Linked DNA regions of Homo sapiens: region 2 is linked to region 1. The links are contacts of gene promoters, found by promoter capture Hi-C in blood cells and fetal thymus (Javierre and others, 2016). All regions are on one chromosome and are shown on one strand. Each heading gives the region's core, a stretch centred on a gene start or on the middle of the fragment in contact. The rest is flanking DNA. Distances are from core to core; before and after follow the strand shown.

Region 1 (5,772 bases), core at 2,008-4,507:
TCTGGAGGCTGAGGTGGAAGGATTGCTTGATCCCAGGAGTTCAAGTCTGCAGTGAGTATGATCATGTCACTGTGCTCTAGCCTGGGCAATAGAGCAGGACTCTGTCTCTGAATTTTTTTTTTTTTAAAGAGCAGAGAACTAACATTTATTCTGCTCACACGTACCAGCCCTGGGCTTGGGTCCATACTGTATTGGCACGTGCCTGTGGAGCACTGAGGATCCCACAGCAGAGACAGGACTGCCAAGTGCCTGGCCTGGTCACTTGGCTTCTCTGGACTTCCGTTTCCACTCCTGAAAAATAAGAAGGTTGGTGTAGATTATCTCTAGCATCTCTTCCTATGTTAGAATTCTGTGAAGTCACACAAAGGAGTGGTTAAGAGTTTCAGCTTTGGGCTGGGTGAGGTGGCTCACACCTGTATTCCCAGAACTTTGGGAGGCTGAGGCGGGTAAATCACTCGAGCTCAGGAGTTTGAGATCAGCCTGGGCAACATGGCAAAAAGCCTGTCTCTACTAAAAATACAAAAATTAGTCAGGTGTGGTGGTGCACATCTGTGGTCCCAGCTACTCTGGAGGCTGAGGTGGGAAGATTGTTTGAGCCTGGGAGGCTGAGGTTGCCGTGAGCCAAGATCATGCCACTGCACTCCAGCCAGGGCAACAGAGCCAGACCCTGTCTCAAAAAAAAAAGAGTTTTAGCTTTGGAGTTGGACAAACCTACATTTGGATCCCAGCTGTCATTCACTAGCTGTGTGTTCTTAGGAAAGTTGCCTTACCTTTCAGAGTCTAGGGTAATAATATAAAGATTAAGTGACAATTATAGCAAGCATTTAGCACAGAGTGTGGCACTTGGTGAGTGGTGATGCTGCAGATGATGGATGATTCTAGTTACCCAAATCCCCAAATAGCACACCTCTCATCTCCTCTCCTCTCCCCTCCCCTCCCCTCCCCCAACTTCCTTTCCTTTTCTCTTTCTTTTTTGATGGAATCTTGCTCTGTCGCCCAGGCTGGAGTACATTGGCCGCAATCTCAGCTCACTGCAACCTCCGCCTTCCGGGTTCAAGTGATTCTCCTGCCTCAGCCTTCTAAATAGCTGGGATTACAGGTGCCTGCCACCACGCGTGGCTAATTTTTTTTTTTTTGTATTTTTAGTAGAGACGGGGGTTTCACCATGTTGGTCAGGCTGGTCTTGAACTCCTGACCTTGTGATCTGCCCACCTCAGCCTCCCAAAGTGCTGGGATTACACACATGAGCCACTGCGTCTGGCCCTTTTTTTTTTTTTTTTTTTTTTTGAGACAGAGTCTTGCTCTGTTGCCCAGGCTGGAGTGCAGTGGCATGATCTCGGATCACTGCAACCTCTGCCTCCTGGGTTCAAGTGATTCTGATGCCCTAGCCTCCCGAGTAGCTGGGATTACAGGTGTGCACTGCCACATCTGTCCAATTTTTGTATTTTTAGTAGAGATGGGGTTTCACCATGTTGTCTGGGCTGGTGAAGGTGGTAGGTTTCAATGACAGCAGCATAATGCCGTGGGAGTTGGGAGGAGGGAATGATCTGACTCACTCTGGGGCAGGTCTTCGAGTTAATTCTCCAGTGGATTCTCCTAGGCATCGTGTGGTCCGTCCTCAGAACTGTGCCTCCCTAATGTGGCTGAGTGGATTCACTACCCACCCCATGCTTGGGCTCTGCCTCGACCTCTCCCTCCCATGCACAGCCAAAGCCGCTCAAAGCTGCTGGTTTTCCTTGACTCTGGGCTTCTCTCCATCACCCACTGCCTCCCAACAGAACCCCCGGTCTCTGCATCCTCCTGTTCCAGATTGCTAGGACCCCAGCTGCCCATCAGGGACCCCTCTAAAATAACTTAGTTGAGTCATTGTTTGCCTACTTAACAACCTGTGATATTCTCCATTGCTTATGGGATAAAATCTAAACTCCTTGGCTTGGCATACAAAGTCCTTTACAGTCCAGTTCCTCCTCTGCTGATATTTCCAAGCTCTTTGTCCCAAGTGCCCATGCTCTCTCCCCACCTCCCTTGCACTCTAGTCCCCTCGACAGACTTGCTCTCTTGCGGGAACATCACCCACTTCCACATCACCCAGCCTTTGTGTGTGCTGTGTCTTCTGCCTAGAGCACCCTCCCTTCCCGTAGTCTGTCAGGCAAGCTCACAGCCATTTCTCGGGATCCATTCAAATGTCACCTCGCTTGGGAGGCCTTCCAGATCCCCCCCAGATTTTCTTGGGTTCCCTCAGCATCATGACCTTTGCCTTTCATAGCATCTATCATGCTGAACTTACACATTTACTTCCTTCTCTGGACTGAAAGCTCATTGGTGGCAGAGATCCTTTACATTTTTGTATTCTGAGTGTCTGGAACACAACACGTAGTCAGTAAAGACGTGTTATTGCAAATGTCCACACATCTTGTGTCTGGCTCAGAATATGGTGTTTTAGGCCGGGTGCGGTGGCTCCCAGCACTTTGGGAGGCTGAGGCAGGCGGATCACCTGAGGTTAGGAGTTTGAGACCAGCCTGGTCAACACGGTGAAACCCTGTCTCTACTAAAAATACAAAAATTAGCCGGGTATGGTGGCGGGCACTACAGTAACTGTAATCCCAGTTACTCAGGGGGCTGAGGCAGGAGAATCACTTGAACCCAGGAGGCGGAGGCTGCAGTGAGCCAAGACCGCGCCATTGCACTCCAGCCTGGGCAACCGAAAAAAAAAAAAAAATTAGAAATCTCTGGAGTCAGATCTGGGTTGTGGGCCTTGCTCTGCCTTGTATCAACTATGTGGCAAGTGACTGACCTCTACAAACCTCAGATTTGTGATCTGAGATTAATCAAGGGTTAATTGAGAAACCAGCTGAGTGCTAGCACCTAGTAAGTGTTCAGTAAGTGACAGTGATGGTTATTGCTGAGTTTTGAATGGAGGAGCTGCCTTAGAATCAGGAGACCTGCGCCCCAGTTCCCATTCTGCCCCACCTCCCTGTGTCACCCTAGGCAGGCCACATTTCCTCCCTAGTTTCAGGGGCCTGAAGCAGATGCCCTCTTAGGGCCCCACAGCCTGACATGCTGTAGGGCCTGAGAAGCGGCGTCGTGGAGGACGAGATGTGTGAGGGCAGCAAAGAGTGCTATGTGTCCAGCAGAGGGCCCTGCCCGGCCTGTGGCCGGAGGCTGGGAGGGAGGGCAGGCGAGTGATGCCAGACGCCTGACTGGAGGCGGATCCAGCCGGCCAGCTGCCTCTCTGGAGCCCAGCTCTTGGGCCCCCTGCACTCACCTGCTCTTCCTGGGCTGGCTGTCTCCTGCTCATCCAGCCATGCGGTGGCTGTGGCCCCTGGCTGTCTCTCTTGCTGTGATTTTGGCTGTGGGGCTAAGCAGGGTCTCTGGGGGTGCCCCCCTGCACCTGGGCAGGCACAGAGCCGAGACCCAGGAGCAGCAGAGCCGATCCAAGAGGGGCACCGAGGATGAGGAGGCCAAGGGCGTGCAGCAGTATGTGCCTGAGGAGTGGGCGGAGTACCCCCGGCCCATTCACCCTGCTGGCCTGCAGCCAACCAAGCCCTTGGTGGCCACCAGCCCTAACCCCGGCAAGGATGGGGGCACCCCAGACAGTGGGCAGGAACTGAGGGGCAATCTGACAGGAGCACCAGGGCAGAGGCTACAGATCCAGAACCCCCTGTATCCGGTGACCGAGAGCTCCTACAGTGCCTATGCCATCATGCTTCTGGCGCTGGTGGTGTTTGCGGTGGGCATTGTGGGCAACCTGTCGGTCATGTGCATCGTGTGGCACAGCTACTACCTGAAGAGTGCCTGGAACTCCATCCTTGCCAGCCTGGCCCTCTGGGATTTTCTGGTCCTCTTTTTCTGCCTCCCTATTGTCATCTTCAACGAGATCACCAAGCAGAGGCTACTGGGTGACGTTTCTTGTCGTGCCGTGCCCTTCATGGAGGTGAGTGTGTGTTCTGTTTGAGCTCTGCTGGGAGGCTGCAATCCAGGGAAGGGACTCAAAGTCTCCATCAGGTCTTTGGAAATGGAATTTGTGGGTGTGCAAAACCTGAGTCTTGGAGCTCTGACTTGCTCCTCCTTTACCTTGGAGAAGGAGACAAATACGGTATTGGTTTCTGGTTGCTCTCAAGAGAAGTAGGCAGGCCAGGGGGACAGGCGGGTGTGTGGGGCCCCTGGGTTCCAGCCCCAGCCTGATCTTCTGCTTCGGGAGCAACCTCAAGGCAGGCCTTTGCCACTTTCTCCAGACCCTAAGCTGCCCTCTCCCTTCCTCAGCCCTTCTCCCCTGTCCCACCCAAGATACCTCTGTCCTTTGTTGTGACTCCTCTTCTTTCCTCTGTACCCCCTGCCGCTGCCCTGCTCCCACAGCTTCCTTCGCTGCTCCTCCGTCTCCTGCCTCCTGAAGGAGTGCCTGAAGGGAGAGCCCAATTTCCTTCACACCCCTCTGGATCAAGTCAGCATCCACTCCATGAGAATACAAGCACCAGAAGCAAAAGACCGCTCCGTTCTTCCCTCCCTGCTGGGATTCTCATTGTTATCGTTGTCATTTCCATCAGCAACTTCCTAGATCCTCTCTGAAAGGGATACCTGGTTCTGGGCACTGGAACTAATGGGGGGCTCTAGTCTTAGCTCTGCCACTGACATACTGGGCGTCACTGGGCAGGTTGCATTACCTCTCCAATTTCTTTATCTCCCAACCAGGGCGGGTAGACCAGATGGTCCTTCCAGCTGGCCTGTTTCACAGTTCTAAAGTATACCACTATGCCCTTACTTCTGGTAGCGTCTACGATAAGTCCATGGGTGTCAAAGGATATGTAGAGCATAGAGAGACAACTTAAAACACTGCAGAAACATACTGATGTGTGCATTTATGCAAGACACAGCAAGGCCACCCTCTCTCTCTCTGTAAGACAAAATAAGCAAACAGTCTTTCAAATTTTGGCTGCATGGAGTGTAATGGAGTGACTGTGGTCTCCCTGTGAAGCTGCTGTTCCTTCGTGAATGATGCTGCATGACAAGGGGGACTTGCCTGGCCGGAGAAGGGCTCAGGATCAGCATTACGGACACAGGTCCTATTCCAAGGTCTGTCCCCACCTCACCATGTAACAATGATGATGTCATAGTTGGACAGACTCCCTGTGTCTCAGCAGTGGGTACAGTCCTTTCCTGTCCTTCCCAACCCAGGGAGACTGACTAACAGTGGTACAAAGTTACTCCACCCTGAAAGAAGACCCTGTGCCAGGCACAGTGGCTCATGCCTATAATCCCAGCACTTTGGGAGGCCGAGGCAGGTGGATCACTTGAGGTCAGGAGTTCGAGACCAGCCTGGCCAACATGGTGAAGCCCCATCTCTACTAAAAATAAAAAATTAGCCGGGTGTGGTGGCACGCACCTGCAGTCCCAGGTACTCAGGAGGCTGAGGCAGGAGAATCGCTTGAACTTGGCAGGCAGAGGTTGCAGTGAGCCAAGATTGCGCAGCCTGGGTGACAGAGTGAAATTCTGTCTCAAAAAAAAAAAAAAAAAAAAAAAAGACCCTGCAACTGGAGAGAGGCTTTGCATTCTTAGTTATCATCTTGTGCTCACGACCCAGGTGAGCTGTGCATGCTTAGACACAGGACTCTGAAATTGAGCAGACTAGATTAGAAACTGGGCTTTTCCCATCACTAGCTGTGTGATTTGGTAGATTACTTTAACTACCTAAATCTCAATTTCCTCATTGGTAAATTGGGGATAATAATAATAATAGCTATCTGGGTGAATTCTTAAGGGATTAAATGGGTGATG
Region 2 (5,772 bases), core at 1,592-4,091, 180 kb before region 1:
TTTCATAGCTGGCCTTGACTGAGTGTTTATGACACGCCAAGCTCTGTGCTAAGTGCTCTACCGCAGCACCGCTTTTAGTGTTCACAACCCTGTGAGATGGGTACTACTATCCATATTTTGTAGGTGATGAAACTGAGGCTTAGATTAGGTAACTTGTGACTTACACAGAGACACCATTACTCAAACCAGGTTTTTCTAATACTTAAATCCAAGTTCTTGGCCACACACTCACTATTTTGTTAATGGTGCCAAAGAAGCCACCTTCTAGGGTTCATTCTCACCCAGATTTACAGAGATGACTTCTGCCCAGGCTCAGCATGCACCCCGAACTCCAGCCAGCCATTATGCCAATGTACGTCCCTGGACAGGGTGAGGAAGAGTGAGGGGATCAGAACAGCCTACATCCACAAGGGAAAACCGGACCTAAAGGCATCTCCTTACATCAAGGATGTACACACAAACACACACACCACTTCTATTTCTTGACTCGGGCTCTGTCCGCAGAACCAAGTGTGGACCTGGCAGGGGTGAGAGAGGTGAGGCAGGGGAGGAGACACTTGTCACGGTATTAACTGGCTGAATAAAAAGTCTATGATAGTGAAATTTCCAGGAACAGGAGAATCCTTCACACTCTTGCTTGTGATTAGACTGCTTTGTTTGACTTCAGCCTCAGGAGTACCTTTCTGAGCACTGGAAGCTACCGGACACAAGGCAGTCATGGGCCCAGAGCCTGCGACTGGGAGTGGGGAAGAGCAGAGTCAACGATTTCCAAGGGTGCCAAAGCCTTTGGCTGCATTTCATTTCTTTCTGTATGATTCCTGATAGCTGTGTTGGGGTACCGGGCCCTCACAGTAAGTGCTACCACTTTTTCTGTAAATGTTTTGGTTTTATTTATCATTATCATAGCTGCATCTGGGGCAACCACCTTGTGCATACAGGACAATAAATTCCTGAGCCTCCTGGCTTCCCTCCTTCCTCCCTCCTTCTCCCTCTTCTTGGCAAAGGCTTAAACATAGGTGGTGGGGCGGGGGGGGGCGGTAGGGACAGAGACAGAGTTCCAGCTCCTCTTTGCTTCACCCCCTTCCCTCCTCCTCCCTTCTTTCCCATTGCTACACTAAAGGAGTCAGGGCTGTGTCCACCAATATGCTCTGTGACTAGCAGTCAACACAATTTCATACCCAGCCAGTCATTCCGCAGGCATTTTGGATGATAATGTTCCCATTCTCAGTTCCTCTGTGAGAATGTGCATGTCATTTGAAGCTCTGTGCCTCAGTTTCCATAGAAGTAAAACAAAAAGCAAGAATTGAGACTGATCTTTTTCTTGCAAGAATTCACAAGTAATGGATAATGTACAAGAGATGTGGCTGAATAAGAGAACTAGAACAAAGACTTGAACAATTTTCCTATGCAACACTCTTTCCCATGGACAAAGGTATCCCACAAAGTCATACTTCATCGGAGGCTAGTTTGTCCAAAGAAAACTCACATACCAATGCAATAGTGACAAAAAAAAAATTCCTCCATGCCAACTCAGGAAAACAGAAAGCAAGTTGTGCTTAAGCCCATTGTAGGTGTGGGCAGATGCTTCCAAAACCGTCACCCCTTTTCCCTCCTCTATGACTATCTTCAACCCCCAGCAAAGCGGCCTCGCCAGCTGCTAAAGGGTTAATTACCAAAAAGAGGGCATGCTCCCTCCAGAGGCTCCTCTGGAGAGTGCAAAAACAAAACAAAACCAAAAACCAACTAACCACAACAAAAAACATCTTCCCTGGGAATAAATTTGAAGCTTATCAGGTCTTTAAGCCACATTTCCCAGCCCATAGACTCCTGGTCCCTGTCTCCCTTTGCTTTGGGAAACTCATTTACCCCCAAGCCTCCTGAAATGATCCATGTGCCGTGAGATGCCCATAGGGTTGGGGACTTGAAAATGAGTTATTCTCCCACAAAAAATGGCTTAGCTTTGTCTTTTTGGGTGGCTGACAGGAGACATAAAGTATCACTCTCTCTTTTTACCCCTCCTCACAATAGGATGGAATGAGTGTGGAGAAAAACAAAGGTATTGTGGGACCAGGATGGAGTCAACTTGACAATGGACTCTTCAAGGACACCTTCCAGCTCCCATTCTACTAGTAGCTCTATTTGATTTTGTGGGATGTTGTGTTCCTCCAACATATCCGACTTCTGCTTATAAAACAGAAATTAGGAGTAAGAGATTCGCACCGCTAGTTCAGTGGATAATCATCAGTTCTGAAGCATTAAAATCCTTTGCCAACAAGAACGTTTCTTCTAAGGAAGGAAGCATCCTAATCATGAAGCCAGGGTCTCCAGCCCTCCCCTGTCTCCCTCCTCCCCTCCAGGGCTGTGCTCACTCACATCCATGGACATCTCCCTCTGCATAAGTTTCTTGGTCTCCTTTTCACAGAAGTTGAGCATGGCCTCCCGGTTGTACACACCCGTGGACTGTTTCTCCGTCTGGTTTCTCTGCCGCAGCCCCACGGGAACACTCCCGTCTGGGTCCACCACGTCCAGCTCCTTCTCCAGCTCCTCCATCTCCTCGGGAGACAGGGTCTCCAGCAGGCTGTCGATGTCGGGGTCTTCACTCACCTGCCGGCGATATTTGGCTACTCTAGACATCTTGGCAAAATGGGCTGTGGCTGCCAGGGGCTATCAGAGTCCTGGTGGGCAGGGAAGGGAGAGGGGTGAGCTGATCTGGATGCAGCGAGTGGGCTGAGGAGCAAACCTCCTGCTGGTCGAGGACTGCAGCTCCTTGGCCCTTCTGTGCTACAGGTGCTGAAGTGTTCACTGGACGCAGCAGCCTCCCTGAAGCCCAGGGCTAGTGGACCCCGGCTGGTCTAATCAGCGGCCAATAAGACCCGACAACTGCCAGGCCCGGAGAGGAGAAGCCAATCCCCAAGCTGGGGGCGGGCCTACCTCGCTGTCAGAGCTGTTTGAAACTTGAGGACATTCCAGGGAATCTTGGAGCGCTGCGTGACCAAATTTAGTACAGAGCAGTTTAGCCTTTTAAAGACAAGGGGCCACGCAATGAGAAAAAGATACAAAAATGCGTAGGCTGGCAGAAGCAGATCACAGCCACGGAGAGCCAGACAAGCAGGGACGAGGCCATGAGGGCCGGTGAACTCGCCAGCCCGGGGCACGTTCAAGAGCGTATTTTACTACTCCATCACCGGGTGGACGTATCACTGTGGTCAATGTGTGGTTCATGGACTTCCTTCTACAGTATTTGGTAATGTGCTGGGGGGCTCCCAGGTGTATACAGCTCCAGGAAAGTCTAGATTCAAGATGAGGAGCTGTTACTCCTAACCCCCTGCCTACCCATTTTCTTTCTACCCAGGTTCTGCCAAGGAGGACCTGAAGGCTGAGCATCAGAGGCTCCAGGATCCTTTGGCCACTTCTTAAGAGAGAGACAGGAGACAGAAAGACAAACTTAGAGATAGAGATAGCTAGGCAGGAGAGGGAGAGAGAGAGAGAGAGAGAGAGAGAGAGAGAGAGAGAGAGAGAATAAATCCTTACTGTGTACCAAAACTGAAAACTGGCAGGCTGTTTGGGAAAGAGAGAAGGATCTGCAGAAGTCGGGAAACTCTTAAAGGGCTGTCACTTTCCATGAAGTTCCAAGGCTCTTGGGAAGAGGGTTCAAACCTCCCCCTGTTGTCATCTGTTTCTTCCTCTGCCGGGCATCTGTAGACAGACCTCCTTTGGGAGCACAGAGGCAGGTCACCACCCACATATAAATCCAGAGCACGATTTAGTATGTCTTCAGGGAAACAGAATTCTGGGCCGTCGGGAGAGATACGATTGCAACAGGTCTGGCATGTTTCATAGAAGGGCTTTCCACTGCTCATCCATCATGCTGCCCTGCACAAGTCACAGAGACATTCAATCCCCTGCCCCCCTTCCTCCTGCCACAAAATCCCTTCTAGAAGCCCTGGTGTAACCCATCAGGGTAGATGCTTCGATCTTTCCTGGCATCTTTCCATCCTAAGCCAGAGAGAGACAGTCACTTGATCAGCATTTGCTGAGTCCAGGGATCGTCTGGGACTAAAACTTGGCCGTGCCATTTAATGTCCACTAGTCCAACTTTAGGTTAAGGCTGAAGAGGGGAATGGTGTCCACTGGGGGGACTGAAGGGCAGAAGGAAGGCAGGCAGACTTGATAGGAAGAGTGGAAGAAGACTTTAGGGAAACCTGGGGGTTGTCATTTTAAGAGTCAGTAGCCAACTTATTGGTCAAACCGTAGGTATATATTTATTGAGTGATTTATCAAGTGCCTATTATATATCAGGCATTGTTCTAAGAGCAAGAGATATCACTAAAGATACAAAATCAGGCCAGGTGCAGTGGCTCATGTCTGTAATCCCAGCACTTTGGGAGGCCAAGGCAAGAGGATTGCTTGAGTCCAGGAGTTCAAGAACAGGCTGGGCAACATAATGAGACCCCCATCTCTCCAAAAAAAAAAAAAAAACAAAATTAGCCTGATGTGGTGGTGAGCATCTGTTGTCCCAGCTACTCAGGGGGTTGAGGTGGGAGGATTGCTTGAGACCAGAAGGTTGAGGCTGCAGTGAGCTGTGATCACGCTACTGTACTCCAGCCTGGGCAACAGAGTAAGACCCCATCTCAAAAAAGAAAGAAAGAAAGAAAGAAAGAAAGAAAGAAAGAGCGAGCAAGCACAGGGGCTATGGGAAAACACAACAAGAGGAGGCTGAATAGAAGTATGATTTAACAGTGAAGAGCTTGGGCCTTTGAGGCCAATAGACCTGTATTTGGTCCTGGTATTGCTACTTACAGGCCATGTGACTTGGGCAAGCTACCTTCTTTTCTGAGACTTGAGTTCATCATCTGTAAAATAAGGACAACAGTTATACCAACCTTATACAATTGTTGTGAATATTAAATTAGGTCCTACACATGACAACATTTCATTGATATACCCAGTACATGGTAAACACCATATTTATTATTAATTATTATAATTATTTATTTATTTATTTATTGGGAAACTCTGTTTCACTCTTATTGCCCAGGCTGGAGTGCAATGGCGCGATCTCGGCTCACTGCAACCTCCGCCTCCCGGGTTCAAGCAATTCTCCTGTCTCACCCTCCCAAGTAGCTGGGATTACAGGCATGAGCCACCATGCCCGGCTAATTTTGTATTTTTAGTAGACATGGGGTTTCTCCATGTTGGTCAGGCTGGTCTTGAACTCCTGACCTCAGGTGATCCACCTGCCTCGGTCTCCCAAAGTGCTGGGATTACAGGCGTGAGCCACAGCGCCTGGCTATAATTATTTATTTACTCTTGTCCTGGGTTCTTTTCTTCCCATCCCACCTTTTCTCTCATCTTTTTATTTCTTTCTCTCAAGAGTAAACACCCTCTAAACACACACACACACACACACACACACACACACACTTTCTCACCTGGTTCTCATTCATTCATTCAAACATTTATTCAGATACTACTATTTATATATAGCATCCTGCCAGGCACTACAACATTGTCATTACAACATTGTTATTCTCTTAAACATGTATAATTCAATGGGGTAAAAAATAATAATAACTACACTGTAAGGCAAAGTGAAGCAAGCTAGAGAGGTACAAGGAGTCTTGCAGAGAGGTCCAACTGTTAAAAAACCCAGTGGAAGACACATTAATTTTGTGGGGAGGAGTCAGGGTGGTCATCTCAGAGGGCATAACAAAGGGTTTCAGCCATGCTGGAGTGGGCTTTTAGTTAGGTATGTTGGGTGGACATGGCACT

What was found. The method cuts DNA at HindIII sites, captures the fragments that hold promoters and counts their contacts. A CHiCAGO score of 5 or more calls a contact.
Region 2: the fragment with the promoter of LMOD1 here is called in contact with the fragment with the promoter of GPR37L1 in region 1 in 1 of 17 cell types (erythroblasts); the score reaches 6.5 in erythroblasts.

Annotation. Positions count from the first base shown.
Region 1 is chr1:202,119,660-202,125,431 of GRCh38, forward strand. It overlaps GPR37L1 (G protein-coupled receptor 37 like 1), which reads left to right and starts at 3,258. Exons shown (of 2, transcript NM_004767.5): 1 at 3,258-3,934. The coding sequence starts at 3,305. LOC105371683 (a long non-coding RNA gene) reads right to left here. Exons shown (of 3, transcript XR_922422.3): 2 at 4,292-4,399; 3 at 3,928-4,074. The HindIII fragment of the contact is 24,323 bases long and covers 1-5,772 here.
Region 2 is chr1:201,943,707-201,949,478 of GRCh38, forward strand. It overlaps LMOD1 (leiomodin 1), which reads right to left and starts at 2,842. Exons shown (of 3, transcript NM_012134.3): 1 at 2,374-2,842. The coding sequence starts at 2,634. The HindIII fragment of the contact is 4,460 bases long and covers 1,785-5,772 here.